3 separate regions of the Homo sapiens genome follow, and regions 1 and 2 are each linked to region 3. The links are contacts of gene promoters, found by promoter capture Hi-C in blood cells and fetal thymus (Javierre and others, 2016). All regions are on one chromosome and are shown on one strand. Each heading gives the region's core, a stretch centred on a gene start or on the middle of the fragment in contact. The rest is flanking DNA. Distances are from core to core; before and after follow the strand shown. Region 1 overlaps POP1 (POP1 ribonuclease P/MRP subunit). Region 2 has its middle 1.5 kb from the start of GASAL1. Region 3 holds the start of PABPC1 (poly(A) binding protein cytoplasmic 1).

What was found. The method cuts DNA at HindIII sites, captures the fragments that hold promoters and counts their contacts. A CHiCAGO score of 5 or more calls a contact.
Region 1: a fragment that was not itself captured here is called in contact with the fragment with the promoter of PABPC1 in region 3 in 1 of 17 cell types (neutrophils); the score reaches 10.9 in neutrophils.
Region 2: a fragment that was not itself captured here is called in contact with the fragment with the promoter of PABPC1 in region 3 in 4 of 17 cell types (fetal thymus, total B cells, monocytes and 1 more); the score reaches 8.6 in fetal thymus.

Annotation. Positions count from the first base shown.
Region 1 is chr8:98,120,016-98,122,933 of GRCh38, reverse strand. The region is part of intron 1 of POP1 (POP1 ribonuclease P/MRP subunit); the gene reads right to left. Among named protein-coding and RNA genes, the nearest start is that of POP1, 4.2 kb to the right of the region's middle. The HindIII fragment of the contact is 5,033 bases long and covers 1-2,918 here.
Region 2 is chr8:102,803,998-102,807,014 of GRCh38, reverse strand. No RefSeq gene overlaps it. Among named protein-coding and RNA genes, the nearest start is that of GASAL1, 1.5 kb to the left of the region's middle. RefSeq lists a silencer at 1-558. The HindIII fragment of the contact is 976 bases long and covers 1,170-2,145 here.
Region 3 is chr8:100,720,512-100,723,549 of GRCh38, reverse strand. PABPC1 (poly(A) binding protein cytoplasmic 1) reads left to right here and starts at 1,462. Exons shown (of 15, transcript NM_002568.4): 1 at 1,462-2,159. The coding sequence starts at 1,967. RefSeq lists enhancers at 335-835, 836-1,336, 1,391-2,223 and silencers at 626-1,335, 1,416-1,495, 2,176-2,285. The HindIII fragment of the contact is 6,173 bases long and covers 1-3,038 here.

The sequences.
Region 1 (2,918 bases), core at 251-2,750, 2.6 Mb after region 3:
TATAATAGCAATAGATAATGATTTCAATTTGAAGCAAGATAAAGGACAAAAACAGTGGGACCCCGACTGATTTACCAGTCAGTAGTTCCCAACTCTCAAACTCAACATCCCCTATTTTTACTGATTCAGTTTGAAGCAGCTGTTCTCTATTTTTAAATGAAATGAATGTTATAACCTATTAGACACATATCGAGACATACCCTACAATAGATGCCCTAAATGTAACATAAAGGAGACCTAAGAAGTAATTTTAATAAAATAATATGTATTTCTGTATGTAACTATTTCACCACAACTACACTAGATGATATTATGAATAGATTTTGAACCCAGGGAATAATAACATCCACACAGGCACCAGCACAGGCATTGGCACAATCCATAAAGCTGGATGGTCCTGGAAGCCCTTCAACCCCAAGGTACCAGTGATTAACTCTTTCATTGCTAACTGCAGGAAATCCGAAGGGCCCTATACATGGACACACTAGGAGGTAGGGAAGCTCAGAGCAGCTGGTATTTACCAAGCTGTTCTCAAAGCAGTTCAGTATTTTAATACCAGTCTTTACTTCTACCTATACATAAAATTACCATGAATTCAACAGCTACAAAGGCAAAGCAGCACAGGTGTGTTGTACCAGTGCCTCAAAGAGAAGGTAGCAATGCCACTAATGACGTAATTTTCCAAATTGGTCAACACTCCTTAGTAAACTACCCCCACCCCCGCCACCCTGCCAAAAAAAGTACAAACTTGCTTTGATTTACTGCATTACTGGAAAATTCAGTGCATATTAAAACGGTGTAACCAGGCCAGGTGCGGTGGCTCATGCCTATAATCACAGCAGTTAGGGAGGCTGAGGCAGGCGAATCACTTGAGGTCAGGAGTCCGAGACCAACCTGGCCACCATGGCGAAACCCCATCTCTACTAGAAATACAAAAATTAGTTGGGTGGGCCGGGCGTGGTGGCTCACGCCTGTAATTCCAGCGCTTTGGGAGGCTGAGGCGGGCGGATCATGAGGTCAGGAGATCGAGACCATCTTGGCTAACACAGTGAAACCCCGTCTCTACTAAAAAAATACAAAAAAATTAGCCAGGCATGGTGGCGGGCGCCTGTAGTCGCAGCTACTCAGGAGGCTGAGGCAGGAGAATGGTGTGAACCCAGAAGGTGGAGCTTACAGTGAGCCCAGATCGTGCCACTGCACTCCAGCCTGGGCAACAGAGCAAGACTCCATCTCAAAAAAAAAAAAAAAATTAGTTGGGTGCAGTGGCGCGCACCTGTAGTCCCAGCTATTCGGGAGGCTGCGACAGGAGAATCGCTTGAACCCAGGAGGTGGAGGTTGCATTGAGCCGAGATGATCACACCACTGCACTCCAAGTTGGGCAATAGAGCAAGTCTCCATCTCAAAAAAAAAAAAAAAAAAAACCCGTGTAACCAATAATTTTATATAAATTAGGTACTGGGCTACTGTGGGGCTTTTCTGCACATAGCAGGCTGTCTAATATCCCTGGTCCCTGCCCAATAAATGCCAGCAATGTTAGCCCAATTATGCCAACCAAAACACCTACACAAACTTCCAAAATGCCAGCCACATCAGAATTTGCCCACTTCCACTGAGAGCCACTAAATTACCCCCCATTCACTTACTTCCTTTTCCAATGCAAGACCTCACACAAAATTAAGACTTGCCTATATGGTATAGTGTTTAAGGGCTTTCACTATGGAGTTTGAAAGATGTGGGTTCAAATTCCTTCTTTACACTTTTTAGTTACATAATCTTAGGAAAATTACTTTCTCACTTTCAGCCTCAGCCTCTTCCTCTACAAGTTGCTGTGAGAATTAAACATTATATACAGGCCAGGTGGGATGGCTTATGCCTGTAATCCCAGCACTATGGGAGGCCAAGGCGAGTGGATCACTTGAGGCCAGGAGTTCAAGACCAGCCTGGCAAACATGGTGAAATCCCATCTCTACTAAAAAATACAAAAATGAGGCCGGGAGCGGTGGTTCACGCCTGTAATCCCAGCACTTTGGAAGGCCGAGGCAGAAGGATCACAAGGTCAGGAGATCAAGACCATCCTGGCTAACACAGTGAAACCCCGTCTCTACTAAAAATACAAAAAATTAGCCGGGCGTGTTGGCGGGCGCCTGTAGTCCCAGCTACTCGGGAGGCTGAGGCAGGAGAATGGCGTGAACCCGGTAGGCGGAGCTTCCAGTGAGCCGAGATCGCGCCACTGCACTCCAGCCTGGGCGACGGAGCAAGACTCCGTCTCAAGAAAAAAAAAAAAAAATACAAAAATGAGCCACGTGTGATGGCATGCGCTTGTAATCCCAGCTGCTCGGGAGGCTGAGGCACGAGAATCCTTTGAACCCAGGAGGCGGAGATTGTGGTGAGCCGAGATCACGCCACTGCACTCCAGCCTGGGCGATAGAGTGAGACTCTGTCTCAAAATAAAAAAATGAACAAACATATACATACTGTACATGGTTTTGGCTTTGCAAAATGCATATACACAACTCACTTAGCATGGGGCTTTATGCTAACTAAATGCTCAGTTTATGGTAGCTATTATTCTTAAATAATAAATGAAATAGCAGGGATTGATGCCATTTCACTGTCTCACTCCACTAATTTCAACTAAATGAAAGACAGCTATATCTACATGCAAAAACATTTTTCAAATTAAACAGTATGAAGGAAGTAAATGGAGTTCTGCAGAACTGGCTGGCTAGTGAAGCACATGATTCAGATCGGTCTGCATTAAAAGCCATTCCAAATATTTTACAAAACAACTTAGTTAACCTACTGTTACCTGCTTGAATCAGAACTCACCAGCAAGGCTAGACAAGAACACCATAGAAACTCTAGCTCCCCTCAGTATTAGAATGGTCCAAGAAAAGGTTGGTGCTGGAGGATTAGGA
Region 2 (3,017 bases), core at 408-2,907, 2.1 Mb before region 3:
CCCGCCCAGCCGTCTCCGTGGGGTTTTCCGGCTCTGCGCGCCTCAAACGACCTCGGCTGCCGCCTGCCCGGCAGCTCCCCGCGGTCCCCCACGTTCCCCCGCCCCCCGGGCCGCGCGGCAGGCCTTTCTGATGAGTCAGCGGGAGCCCGGGAGCCTCCAACCGCCCCGGGCATCTGCTCCGGTGACGCACCCTGAGTCACGGGCGCCCGGGCCGCCGCCGAGGCCGAGCGCGCAGCCGGGAGCGCCGAGCGCAGCCCCTACGCCTGCCGCGGGCGCCCACCCAGCCCGGCCCGGCCCCGCACCCTTCCTCCCTCGCTCCCAGCGCCGCCCGCCCTGCACTCCCTGGCCCAGCTCCAGGCTGACATCAGACGCTGGCCGCCCGGCCACCCTCTGAGTCAACAGTTTCCGAAGCAGAGCCCGCTGCCAGGGGCGGGGAGAGAGCGCGGCCTCCGGGGGAGGCGGGGGCGGGCACCGGTCTGGCAGCCGCGGGAGGGCGGAGGTGGGTGGGGACGCCGGAGCCTTTTACAAGAAGTCACGGGGGATGGGGGAGAAGAGAGGGCGAAAACCACCCTCTGCAGAGCTGCCGGGGCGGAGAGGAAACCCGCCGCCCCACACAGCCACGTGCTGAAGCCCTCACTGAGTGGGTGGCTGGGAAGGGAACCCGAGGGCGGGAGGAGGGGGAGGCACTTGCTGGGAAAGGCCCTGGGCCAAGTTTCTGAGGGAGGAAAAGAACCACCTTTGGACACCCTGGGTCCCAGGGGCCCAGCAGATATTTGTGTCTGGATAACAGGGCCCCACCCAGTTCCCTTTGATGGGAGCAGCTCTGGCCGAGCCCTACTCTTGGGGACTGGTGCTGCCTGCTTGGGGTCCGACTTGAAGAACTGCACTGACCTAACCTGACCCCCTCCCTTGACCACAGACCCTGTCACCATCGTGGGATGATGGGGTTGGAAGGATGTATGTCTGAGGGTAAAGGAATTCAAGAGCCCCAGTCCATTGAGAGTCACCTTCCTCGCTGTAACAAGGCTGGGCACTATGGTCTGCCCCTGAGTTGGTGCTGGGTAACCACTCTGAGAGGCTGCATCTGTGGTTCTAGAATGCTCAAAGTGAGCAAGAGACCCTTAAAAAAAGCATCTACCTGCAGGGGGACTAAGTGGCTTCTAGAAGCTTCTTTAACCCCGCAGATTTCCCTGATCACGTCAGGCAGGAAGGAAGGGTGACGTGGAGCCAGGAGGACAGAGTAAGGCAGTAAGCATCCACAGGTGCTTGGATTTCCTTCCCTCCACCCCATCGCACCCCGCCCACCCATGCCATGCCCCCCAGGATAGCAAGACAGGGCTGTCATTGGTGGGCCTCCGGCTGGAATTCACGCTCAGCTTCTTTCCGGGATTTGAACTTGTTGTTCTTTCCAAAGCCATGGTTCAATAAATGATGCCAACCTGGGAAGGGGAGGTGTCTTTCTCATCTTGCAGGCAGAAGCGGCATAACAGCTGGGTGAACAGAACCGGTCTGGATCTGTCCAGAGCTATTTGTCAGCACAGCTTTGCAGAAACTATGTGAGCGTCTCCTTGCTCCATATGACCCCCATTCAAACTCATGCTGAGAAAGAGCTCCCAGTCCACCTCTGCTGGGGCAGTCTTTTCCCAAGTGTGACTTTTCCAAGGGTGGGTGGTTCATTTCTGCCAATCTAACCCAGCTCAAAATAGCATTGAATCAGACTTCTGGGAAGCCCTGTGCTCCAGGCGCCTGTAGAAAAGAGTTAAAAATGACATCTCTTGGGAAACCAGGGGGTCTAATTTTGCTGAGGTGGGACAAGATGCAGAGCCCTGTGACATCAGAGGGAAGAAATAGTGGCCAGGGATAGGTCTGGAAAGTGTGAGTGGTGGAAGGTCCTGTGCTTTATGTGGTTGCCCTTTGGGAAGTCCGTGGCCTGGCCCAGTGGGGGGCAGGTATCCTGGGAGCTAAGGCCAGGTGTAGGAGGGGGCTGTGGCTTAAGCCACAAACTCCACAACCTCCAACTTCCACATTTTCCTTCAGGCTGAGAACCCGAACTGTCTCAGTAGGGGTTGACTCCTCCACCGTTTCTAATTCTGATTACTTACGCTTTTGGCTTGGGCCCAGCTGGATTGCCACCTTTATGAAGCTTTTCTCATGAGTTAACTTGACCCTTGGCACTTCCACTACAGCCTTTACCATGCTTTGCCTGCTTTGAGAGGCTTTGCTTTATTCGGCTTTCCTCTCCACCCAGCAGCCCACTGGGAGGCAAGCACTCCATCCTTGCCACTCGTTAGTGGAACTCCCAGGGAAACAAATGAGCTGTCGGCTCTTCTGTCTTCTGCCCCCACGTTTGGTCTCATAGGCTTCCTTTGTGTCTGATGGGGCTTCCTGTGTGCTGTCTCTGCTTCCAAGACAGCCTCATCTTGGGTTTTGACCCTATCTGCGTTTTTTTTTTTTTTTAAGGAAAACAATTTTTCTTAGTTCAAATAGAAATTAGCTTAGATTTTAGATTTGATCATTTTCTAGATTTTTTTAAATTTATGGGTACATAGTAGGTGTGTATGTTTATGGGGTACATGAGCTATTTTGGTATAAACATACAATACATAATAATCATATCAGGGTAAGTGGAGTATTCATCACCTCAAGCATTTAATCTGTTCTGTGTTACAAATATTCCAATCATACTCTTTTAGTAGTTTTTGTTTGTTTGCTTGTTTTGTTTTGTTTGAGACAGAGTCTTACTCTGTCACCTAGGCTGGAGTGCAGTGGCATGATCTTGTCTCACTGCAGCCTCTGCCTTCTGGGTTCAGGTGATTCTCCTGCCTCAGCCTCTGGACTAGCTGGGGCTACAGGTGCGCACCATCACGCCCAGCTATTTTTTTTGTATTTTTAGTAGACACAGGTTTCACAATGTGGGTGTTCTCTTGACCTCGTGATCTGCCCGCCTTGGCCTCTCATTTTTTGTATTTTTAGTAGAGACGGGGTTTCCACATGTTGGCCAGGCTGATCTCAAACTC
Region 3 (3,038 bases), core at 213-2,712:
TCCATTAAAGTTTATTGAATTAAGGAATAAATTGGGCAATCATTTAACTTCTTTGAGACTGTTCCTGTAACAGTAAAGTAAAATTATTACTACTTGCTCCACCTCCCACACCAGATTGCTCTCAGGAACAAATGATAGTATGTTTACGCGAGTGCTTTAAAAACTGTAAAAGCACTTTACTACTTTCGAGTGGAATTTGTATGTTGATTTAATGTCATTCCTAGAGCCGGTTTTTATTACTATCAATTCGTTAAATTTAGCATTCCTATTAAAACCCACTACTAATGTGCAGAATTGTTTTAGTTATTTATAAGGACGTTGTTTTAGACTATTCCTAATTTTGTCTGGTTGCAGGGCTGTGGTGCCATATAGTAGTGATTGTGACAAACCCGTACTTTCAGGAAAAACATTCACTTTTCTCCACTCCTGGTTTCTATCGCCAAGAAATGTCTGGCAGAAGCAGCACAAATCAATGATTCCAGCCTAGCACCTTAAGGTAAGAAGTGACCAAAGACCCCCAACACAGCTATCCCAAATTAAAGCCACTTTGACCAACGACAACGTCCAGTGAAGACACGGAGGAGGGTCGGGCTGGAAAAGAAGAGGACGAGGAACCCGAGGGGCCCTCCCCTCTCTCTCCCTGCCCCCCAACCCCGCGCCGGGAGCTCCAGCGGTGCCGGGGTCCAGCGCGCAGGACGGTTGGGGGGTCCCGGAGCGGGCGGCCAGGACCCGCGCAGCCAGTTGGTGTCAGCGAGCGCCGCGGCCGTTGGGGACTCCAGCTCCCAGCAGGCACCGCTTCTGCGGCCGACGCGCGTGGCGGCGGTGCCGGCTGGGACTCGTAGTGCGGTCCGGGTAGGAGAGAGCAGGGGGCCACGCTGGCTCCATCTACGCACGTTTCGGAAACCGGGCCCGGAGGGGACCACGCCCGCTCACCCGTGCCCGGCGTCCCCCGGAGCTGGGGCTAGAGGAGCCGGGCCGGCCGCAGCGGGAAGAGGCCACAGGCGGCCGCGCACGTGGGGGGTGGTTAGCGCGGAGGAACCCGGAAGCCCTTTGCACCGCCCACCGCCGCGGTGACGGGTTAACGCTCCTCCTGGTGGAGGCAGGGGCGGGCGGGGCGGAAGGCGGGGACGCCTCAGCCAACACCCCCGAGGACCGCCCGCGAGCCGTCCTCCCCACCCCCACGGACGCGACGCAGCGCGGGCTCCGCTTCCCCGGCCGCGGCGCCTGCGCAAAAGCCCCGCCCCTTCGCCCGAGCCCCACCCCCACACCGCAGCCTCCACCGCCGCCACCTCTCCCTTCCTCTCTGCTCTTTCCTCCTGTTTTCTCTTCCCTCCTCCCCCTGGCCTCCGCGTCTCCTCCTACTCCGGCGCTGACGCTCGCGTAGGGGCCCTGGCGTCAGACGCGCGGGGGCGGGGCGAGTGCGGCGCGGGGTATAAGTAGAGGGTGCAGGAGGCGGTGCTTCCCCTTCTCCCCGGCGGTTAGTGCTGAGAGTGCGGAGTGTGTGCTCCGGGCTCGGAACACACATTTATTATTAAAAAATCCAAAAAAAATCTAAAAAAATCTTTTAAAAAACCCCAAAAAAATTTACAAAAAATCCGCGTCTCCCCCGCCGGAGACTTTTATTTTTTTTCTTCCTCTTTTATAAAATAACCCGGTGAAGCAGCCGAGACCGACCCGCCCGCCCGCGGCCCCGCAGCAGCTCCAAGAAGGAACCAAGAGACCGAGGCCTTCCCGCTGCCCGGACCCGACACCGCCACCCTCGCTCCCCGCCGGCAGCCGGCAGCCAGCGGCAGTGGATCGACCCCGTTCTGCGGCCGTTGAGTAGTTTTCAATTCCGGTTGATTTTTGTCCCTCTGCGCTTGCTCCCCGCTCCCCTCCCCCCGGCTCCGGCCCCCAGCCCCGGCACTCGCTCTCCTCCTCTCACGGAAAGGTCGCGGCCTGTGGCCCTGCGGGCAGCCGTGCCGAGATGAACCCCAGTGCCCCCAGCTACCCCATGGCCTCGCTCTACGTGGGGGACCTCCACCCCGACGTGACCGAGGCGATGCTCTACGAGAAGTTCAGCCCGGCCGGGCCCATCCTCTCCATCCGGGTCTGCAGGGACATGATCACCCGCCGCTCCTTGGGCTACGCGTATGTGAACTTCCAGCAGCCGGCGGACGGTGAGCGCCGGGCTCCGCGGTCGGCCGGGCGGGCGGGCGGCCATGAGGCTCGGGCGGCGGCGGCGGGCGGGGTAGGCCGGCGGGCCCGGGGAGGGGGGCGGGAGGGCATGTCACCCCGCGACGGCCGGCGGGAAGGCGCCGGGGTCCCTGGAGCCGCGTTTCCCGAGCCGGCGGGGACCCGCGCTGCCGGCAGCCACACGCCCGGCTACTTCCTCCTTTGCGACCATTTTCTCGGCCTCAGACGCTCTCAAACTTTAGGGTGATGACGCGCCGGGAGGGTGGGTGAGATTCGGTTCCTCCGCGGCGCTCCCGCCAGTGGCCCCGGGATTCTGGGGCGTTGAACGCTGAGCTCCTTCCGTGGGTAAGAGGTGGAGGCGCTCCCACCACCCGGAGCTCCTGCCGGCGCCCCAGCCTGGGGAGGAAGTGCAGTTCTGTGCTCGAAAAATACCACGTGTTGAACCCTGTAACCTCGCAGGCCCGAGGCCTGCTTCTGCTCCTGCTCCTGGCCCAGTCGCCTGGGGGAGCCACCAGGCCTTAGGATAAAGTTCCTGTGGCGATGTGTGGTGTGGTGGTGGTCCTCAGGCTTGTGAGTCCACTTCCCAGAACTCATCAGTGACTGATGGATCTAGGAATGGAATTTACCGGAGACATGCATTTGGGGTTTCCCCTAGATCAAGCATTTCTCTAACATTAAAAGGGCAGAGTGGGAGGAGGGGATGTGGCAGCCGACCACTTTGAAGGCCAGTTTTCTCAGGCAACTTAGACCATTTTTAGTCAAATTTTATCTTAGATTCACAGTACTGGTGGTTTTCGAGTATATTATGTTACCTTCTGAAATAGTTCCTGTCGTTTTGAGGGGCTTTTCTTTATAAAATAGTC